2 separate regions of the Homo sapiens genome follow, and region 2 is linked to region 1. Evidence: promoter capture Hi-C in human tissues and cell types (Jung and others, 2019). All regions are on one chromosome and are shown on one strand. The core of a region is centred on a gene start or on the middle of the fragment in contact, and the rest is flanking DNA. Distances in the headings are between cores, read along the strand shown. Region 1 holds the start of MAGEB17 (MAGE family member B17). Region 2 has its middle 220 kb from the start of MIR548AM.

Region 1 (3,518 bases), core at 563-3,062:
ACCTCCCTGAGATGCCCTGGGAGGAAATGCCACTCACCATGCCAACGTGCCTGGGTCTCCCAGAGGTGACAGTAGGGGTGGTGCTCTATGTGGCCTACTTCTCCCTGGGAAGGGCTCCCTCTTCTCATTCAGTGTTCTCCCCTTGACTCCCACCAGGGACTAAGTCCTCCTTCCCACCCCACCATGAATGGGGCCTCGCCCATTGGTGCAAAAGAGCCACTTCTCTGAAACGCCACCCTGACCCCTTCAGGACACGAGGGGTCACCAAATGCTAATGGCTCTGCCCATGGTTTCCCAGGGCGCACAGCAGAGCTGAGACTCTATGTGGTCTCCTGTGTTTTGGAATGGCCATTTTCCTCCCTCCTCACGCAGGGTTTTTTTTACCTTCACTCCCCACAGAGCCTGGGACTCCTTTCTCCGCTGACCTGGGGCAGCCAGTCTTGCAACCAAAGCCCTCTGCTGAAACGCTCCGTGCAGCCCTGTCTACTGAGGGCTCAGGATCTTCACCTTGCTACTTGACCAGTCCTGGGACTCCATCCTCAGCTCACTACAGGCAACACCCTTCAAAGCAAGATCCTTGCTTCAATGGGACCTCAGATTTGGACATTCAGGGTAAGCCACATCCTCTCAAGGCTGTTTAGGGCCTTCAAGGCGTGACAGCAGGGGTGGGACTATAGGGGACCCCACTGCTCTGCCTCAGGGTTCTGAACCTGGCTCAGGGTGGGACCTCCAACTCTTTGGGACGCGACTCAGGTCGCTCCACTGACCTGAGTCAGCCAGGCCCAGGCCCAAGCTCTCACGTCCCAAAGTTGCTAGAGGGAAAAGTCACGGCATGCCCCGTCTGGCTATGCCTGCACGGGGTCTCCCAGAGCTGACAACAGGGCAGCAGAAACCTGGCTCTCTGGCTCTCCCTGGCTCTCTTGCTTTTTCCTTTTTTTTTTTTTTCTTTGTGACAGACACGGGGTCTCACTCTGTCGCCACGCTCATGGCGTGACCATGGCTCACTGCAGCTTCGACCTGCTGGGCTCAAGCGATCCTCCTGCCTCAGCCTCCCGAGTCGCTGGGGCCACAGGCGCCGGCCACCATGTCCCGCTAGTTTTTGTTCTTTTCTTTCTTGGAGAGAGAGGGTCTCGCTTTGTTACTCAGACTGGTCTGGAACTGCTGGGCTCGGGTAATCCTCCCGCCTCAGCCTCCCAAAGCACTGGGATCACAGGTGTGAGCTACCATGCCCGCCTCGTGGGCCTCCCATGTTTGGGAGAGGTCTCCTCATCAGCATCAGGGACCTCATTTCGATTAGGGCCTAGGAGTCCATCCCTCTGCAGAATCGAAGCCTCACCCTCACACCAAACCCTCCCCTCCCTGGTGCCCTCTCAGAAGTCAGTGCCACAGCCTGACTGGAGCCTCCCGCGGCTGAGGGAGGTGGGTACCCGGGGGCGGGGGTTGGGGGACACAGGGTGGTCGCCTTGGCTGCGTGTGGTGGGCCTTTCAGTCCACGATCAGGGTCCTTACCTTGATACCCAACCAGTCTTGGGGTTCTGGTAGCCTGAGGTGGCGTCCCTCAGACGAAGATCCTCACTTCCGGCAGCTTCCCAGGCGGGCGGATGTCGGAGTGAGCCACATCCAATCAAGTCCCTGCTGGGTCTCCCAGGGCTGAAAGCGGGGCGGGGCTCTGCTCGGGCCCCCTTTTTGCATAGAAGTCCTCTCCAGTGTACTCAGTGTCCTCTCCGGGACTCCAATGAGTGTCCAGTTCTCCTCCCTCAGCTGAACTGTGCTTTTGCCTTTAGACAGAGTCACTACCCTCGTTAGAGCATCTAAGCAGAAAAAAAGGGGTCCTCAGCTGAGGTCTTTGCTATGGCTGACAAGATTAAGCATTTTTTTATTTTTGTTTTTATTTTTTGCTGATAACCATTCCCTTATGTCACTCTCGGTCCTCACCTTGATTCGAGTCAGTTTCTGGGGCTCCACTATGCACAGCTGGGGCTTCCCCCACCAGACCAAGATTCTCCCTTCCCTGAGACCCTCCAGGCCGAAATGACAGTCACCTCAACCTGACAGCTCTTCCTGAGCTTCCCAAGTCACAGGAGAGGTAAGGATGGTGTGACAGGAGTGGGGATGGGATGGTGTGGCAGCGGCGGTGCAGGGAAGGGGAGATGTGGGTTGGTGGAGGTAAGAGTTTTTGTGTCTTCCTCTGTTCTAGTATGGATGTGTGGTTTTCTAATTGCTCCCTGAAATTCCTCACCTTGACACCTGACTGACTAGTCCTGGAACTCGATCCTCATGGGACTTGAGGCTGCTCCCCTCTGATCAAGGTCTTCACCTTCCTGGGACTACAGAGTTGTAATCAGGATGAGCCAAATCTACCAATGACTATTCCAGAACGACAAGGGCTGTCAGCCAGGGCAGGACTCTATGGGACCCCACTGTTCTGGCTTGTTCCTTCCTTTATTCTTAATTCAGGGTCATCACCTTGGTATCTATCAGAAGCTCACAGTCCTTCCTCTACTGACCTGAGTTTGTCTTCCTGAAATCTCTCATGCTCCTGAGAACCTTGAAGGATAATTGTGGAGATGCTCAGCCTCAGCCCTGCCTGTGGCCCTCTAAGTCTGAGAGCAGCCACAGGCTGGTCTCTGTTGGACCTCCAATATTCTGGGATGACGGTATCCTCAGTCCTCCTACATGGGGCTTCACATCTTGGTTCCTGTCTCATTAATTCAAGGCTTCCTGGGAAATGCCAAATCCCTGCAATCTCTTTAACAGTTTTTCTTCCGCAAACTTTGCAGAGAATGGCTCCTTGCCCTGAAGTGATGAGAGATCAGGAAGTTGTAGCTCAAGGCAGGGGGCCCAGGACAAGTGGTGGGTGGTCAAAATAAAGCCAGTTGGTCTATTCCATTTCTTTACCAGCCAGACTTTGCCTCTGCTGTAACTTTGGTTCTAATAGATTGGCTTTCTCCAAGGAAGGGTAGGGCCACATGATTCTGTGAGTCCCCAATCTTTTCAGGTGATCTGACATCACATATGTAGATGATCATGTGGTCACTGAGTATTGTCTCTTTCTTTTCCTTATTCATAGCTCTCATTTATTTTTGTATTCTTATTGCTCTGGCTATGTATTCCAAACCAGTAGTTTGTACACGGTATTTTTCTTCTTATTACTTGATATACAATTTGGAGTAGGGAGAAGAAAAGTGAATTAAGATACACAAGGTCTGTCTCAGGCTGAGATGAGTGTGACAGTATGGGAATAGTTTTATTCTAAATAAACAATACTCGCCGGGCATGGTGTCTCACCCCTGTAATCCCAACACTTTGGGAGGCTGAGGCGGGTGGATCACCTGAGGTCAGGAGTTCGAGACCAGCCTGGCCAACATGGCGAACCCCTGTTGCTACTGAAAAAATACAATAATTAGCTGGGTGTGGTGGCAGGTGCCTGTAATCCCAGCTTCTTGGGAGGTTGAGGCAGGAGAATTGCTTGAACCCGGGAGGTGGAGGTTGCAGTGAGCCGAGATTGCGCCACTGCA
Region 2 (3,757 bases), core at 1,113-3,612, 240 kb before region 1:
CCCTCTTTAAGGTGAGCTGTGAGCCCGGCCCCCTATGCAACAACTTCCATGTATGTTTTATTGGCCTGAACTGGCTTACGTGGTCATCCCATCTGCAACAGAGGCTGGGGAATATAGTTTTTAGCTGGGCCTGTTGCCTCCTCCAACAAAAACAGAGTTCTGCTAGCAAGGAAAAAAGGGGGACTAGATACTGGATTGTAAAAGATAGAATTCAGTTCACTGCCTTTAGCTCTCACTTGCTATCACACAAGATCATGGTGAAGCTAGAGTTACAAAGTGGATGTCAAGTAAACCCATCTCAGCCGACTCTCACTCATCAAGTTTTTCATTTTCCATTCAGTTGTCATGAAGTTGCACTGATACACTCATTAAGGGACTGGGGGAATTTGTAAGCACCTGGGGGACCTATCTCTCAAAATGTTTATTTGGAAGACCATTTAGCCAATTCAAGAGATTGCACTGTGAACAATAATTTGTCTTTTTAGAGGGATATGGGGAGAGTCAAGCCACAATACTTTATTTTGGGGAATTTATATCATCCTCTCCCTGGATAGATTTGAACACCACAGGCAGGAAATATAAACAAGATTTTCTCTTATTCTCAGAGCATTTCCGGGACAATAATATCTTTGAGACCAGGTTTGGTTTGGTTTTCTCTAGTTTCTCTGTAGCTGTTAGCAAAAGCCTATTGTGATAATGCGTGAATCTCTGTGAGAAAAATGACAAAACACAACAGGGTGTTTTCCTATGTAGGAGCAGGCTCAACGTGGCTCCCCAGCAAATAAAACCCAGTTACAGAATTCCTTTCTCCTCTTAACTCATGTAGTACATTGTCCCTCTATTCTTCTGTTTCACAGTCACGCTGCCTTCCATTAGTTACTTCTGGGTCTATTTCTTCCTCCATGTGTCTCTCCACTATACTAAAACAATTTTTTTAAAGGTCAGAGACTAAGACATGCATCTTTTTTTATCATCAGAAACTGTCCAGTAGAAACAGGATGTGAGTCACTAAATTTTCTTCATACTAATTGCTCTCATAGCCACATTTAAAAAGTAAAAAGAAATAAGTAAAATTAATTTTAGTAATGTATTTCATTTAGCCCAATATATCCAACATGTGAGCACTTTAACATGTAATCCATACAACACAGCTGAGATATTTCACATTTTGTTGGTATTACATTTTTCAGAATTCAGTGTGTCTTTTACACTTACCTCACATCTCATTTGGGACTAGGCACATTTCAAGGGCCTAATAGCCACATGGGACTAGTGTCCACCATAATGGACAACACAGGCATAGACAATGCCTTGGACAATAAGGGTACATCATAGTCACCAGTAGAATTTTACTTAGGCACAAAAAGAAGCTGTTAAGTGCTAGGATTTTAGAAAATACCGTAGTTACAGCTTAGTGTGATCCACAAAGATTTGACTGTCTCCCTTATAGTATGGCCAGCTTTATACTGCATTAACCAGGCTCAAGAGATCAGAGATGGGGGGTACGTGGGGCAGGTTAATGGGTACCAAAAAAAAGTTAGATAAAATGAATAAGACCTACTATTTGGTGGCACAACAGGGTGACTATAGTTAATAATCACTTAATTGTACATTTTAAAATAACTAAAGGAGCATATTGGATTATTTGTAATACAAAGGGCAAATGTTTGAGCGGATGGATACCCCATTCTCCATGACGTGATTATTACACATTGCATGCCTGTATCAAAACATCTCATGTGTCCTATCAATATATACACCTACTATGTACCCACAAAAATAAAAAAAAAGAAATCAGAGAGTGGGGAGAAATTTTACTTATCTAGATTCATATAATAACTTGACCTCAGAGAACACAGAGTCAAGTTATCTCATATTATAAATGGAGGTAACTGAGGCCCAGTTAAGCCTTTAAGTGATTTTTCCAAGGTCACACAGCTAGTCAGTGGCAGAGCCAGTCCTAGGACCCAGTTATTGACCCAACATTTATTTAGCAAGTTATCAAGAGCCTTCTATGTGTAAGATACTGTGCTATATGCTTGGGATATAAAGCCATTAAATTGCAGTTTCTGTATATGAGGTGTTGACAGGTAAGAGGGGGAGACAAAGGATAGGAATCATACTCTAAGACATTCTGGATGTTATACACCATGTATAGTGGAGCCCAAAGGAGGGGAAAGTGGTGAAAGGGGTGAGGTCTGGGAAGACTCATCTGTTGCCCACTTTAGTGCTGCCTGTAAGCTCCAGAATTCAAAACATGGGAGCCACTTGACCCATTAAATAACACATCATTAAACGTGGAATTTCTTTCCTTTTGAATATAGTTAAGGATTTTCCTCTCACATATTTGGGGCATGTCTTAGCTTGTGTTTCCTGAAAAGCAGATCCTGAGACAAAGACTTGGGAGCCAATAATTTAATTGGGAGGTGATCCCAGGATACCCAAGTTAGGGAGTGGGAATTGGGGCAAGGAAGAGAGAAAAGCCAATAAAGGGTGAGTGAATGTGTGGATTACAACTGCAGATGACTGGGGCTCAATCTTATTGGGGATATTGGGAGACAATGTAGAGCACACCTCAAAATTGTCCCAGCCTGTGAAGGTGAACCTGAGGTGTGTATCCACTGAATCTGGCTCCGCCTTGGTTGATTTAATCTGAGGGTGTTAAATCTGAGCTTCTTGGTGCACAAGCTCTCTCGAAGGCAGAGGGATATGGGTGCTTGAAGCAGGGAGCTGTCAGGGAGCCCAGGGAACAGTCCACCGTAGCAGCAGGTGGAGTCTGAAGTGTCAGGAGGGGAAACGAAGCAGGGCACCAACAGCATCTGCCATGGGAAATTACCCTCACTTTTTCAGTGTTAAGTCTGAATATCTTCCGTGCAGGAATGTTTTCCTGTACTGTATCGTCAAGTTTACTGTTTGCCCCAGTTTTCCTGCTTCCCCCTCTACAATGCCTGTTTTTAGAAGCTTGTATCTTTGTTCCTGTTGCTGTAATCTTTTTTTTTTTTTTTTTTTTTTTTTTACCATTTTCATCCTTTTGTTCTTTCCCCTCATTATTTTTGGAGTGCTGTGTAAGTTTGCCTTATACATTTTTTATTTGTTTCCTAATGCAGATTCTGCTCTTTTGTTGGCTCTAGTGGATACTTCTTTCTTTGTAGTTTCCTTGGATTCTTTGCAATTTGTCCCAGCTCTTTCTTCACCCTTCTATTTTCATGCCAGCCTTGCATGCTTTTATTTCTTCTTTCATTGCCTACTTCACAGAGTTCAGATTTTCTTATATATAAGGATGGTGCAAACGTAATTGAGGTTTTTGCCATATTTTTGAGAACCTAACTTCTTCCTGTTTCCCCACAGTTGCATACTTTCTTGATCTTTGCTGCTCAAACTGTGGTCTAAGCACCACCAGCATCAGCATCACCCAGGGGCTTGTTAGAAATGTACATTTTCAGACTCCACCCCAGACTCACTGAATCAGAATCTGCATTTTAACATAACATGCTCCCCTGCCCCCACTGCCACCCTCCCCACTTCAACCAGGGATTTGTATGTGTCCTGAGAGTTGAGAAGCACAGGTCCCTGGTTCCCTGGGAAGGAGCCTGGGGCGTGATTAGGAGCACAGACCTTCAATTTTTATTTGAGTCCCAGCCTTGGCACCAATCAGCCATGTGACTTTGAAGATTTAATTATCCTTCTGGGACTTCAGTGCCTCTCTCATGGGGTGGCTCTGAAAATTAAGGTAGGTAAGTATGTGAAGTGCTAAGCA

The links. Contacts are between HindIII fragments. The study calls those that stand out against the background at their distance.
Region 2: a fragment that was not itself captured here is called in contact with the fragment with the promoter of MAGEB17 in region 1 in 2 of the 25 tissues and cell types used here (aorta and mesendoderm cells).

What each region holds. Positions count from the first base shown.
Region 1 is chrX:16,165,775-16,169,292 of GRCh38, reverse strand. MAGEB17 (MAGE family member B17) reads right to left here and starts at 1,812. Exons shown (of 2, transcript NM_001277307.2): 1 at 1,510-1,812. It overlaps MAGEB17-AS1 (MAGEB17 antisense RNA 1), which reads left to right and starts at 614. Exons shown (of 5, transcript NR_187144.1): 1 at 614-2,086. RefSeq lists an enhancer at 192-1,077. The HindIII fragment of the contact is 9,214 bases long and covers 1-3,518 here.
Region 2 is chrX:16,403,707-16,407,463 of GRCh38, reverse strand. No RefSeq gene overlaps it. Among named protein-coding and RNA genes, the nearest start is that of MIR548AM, 220 kb to the left of the region's middle. The HindIII fragment of the contact is 9,450 bases long and covers 1-3,757 here.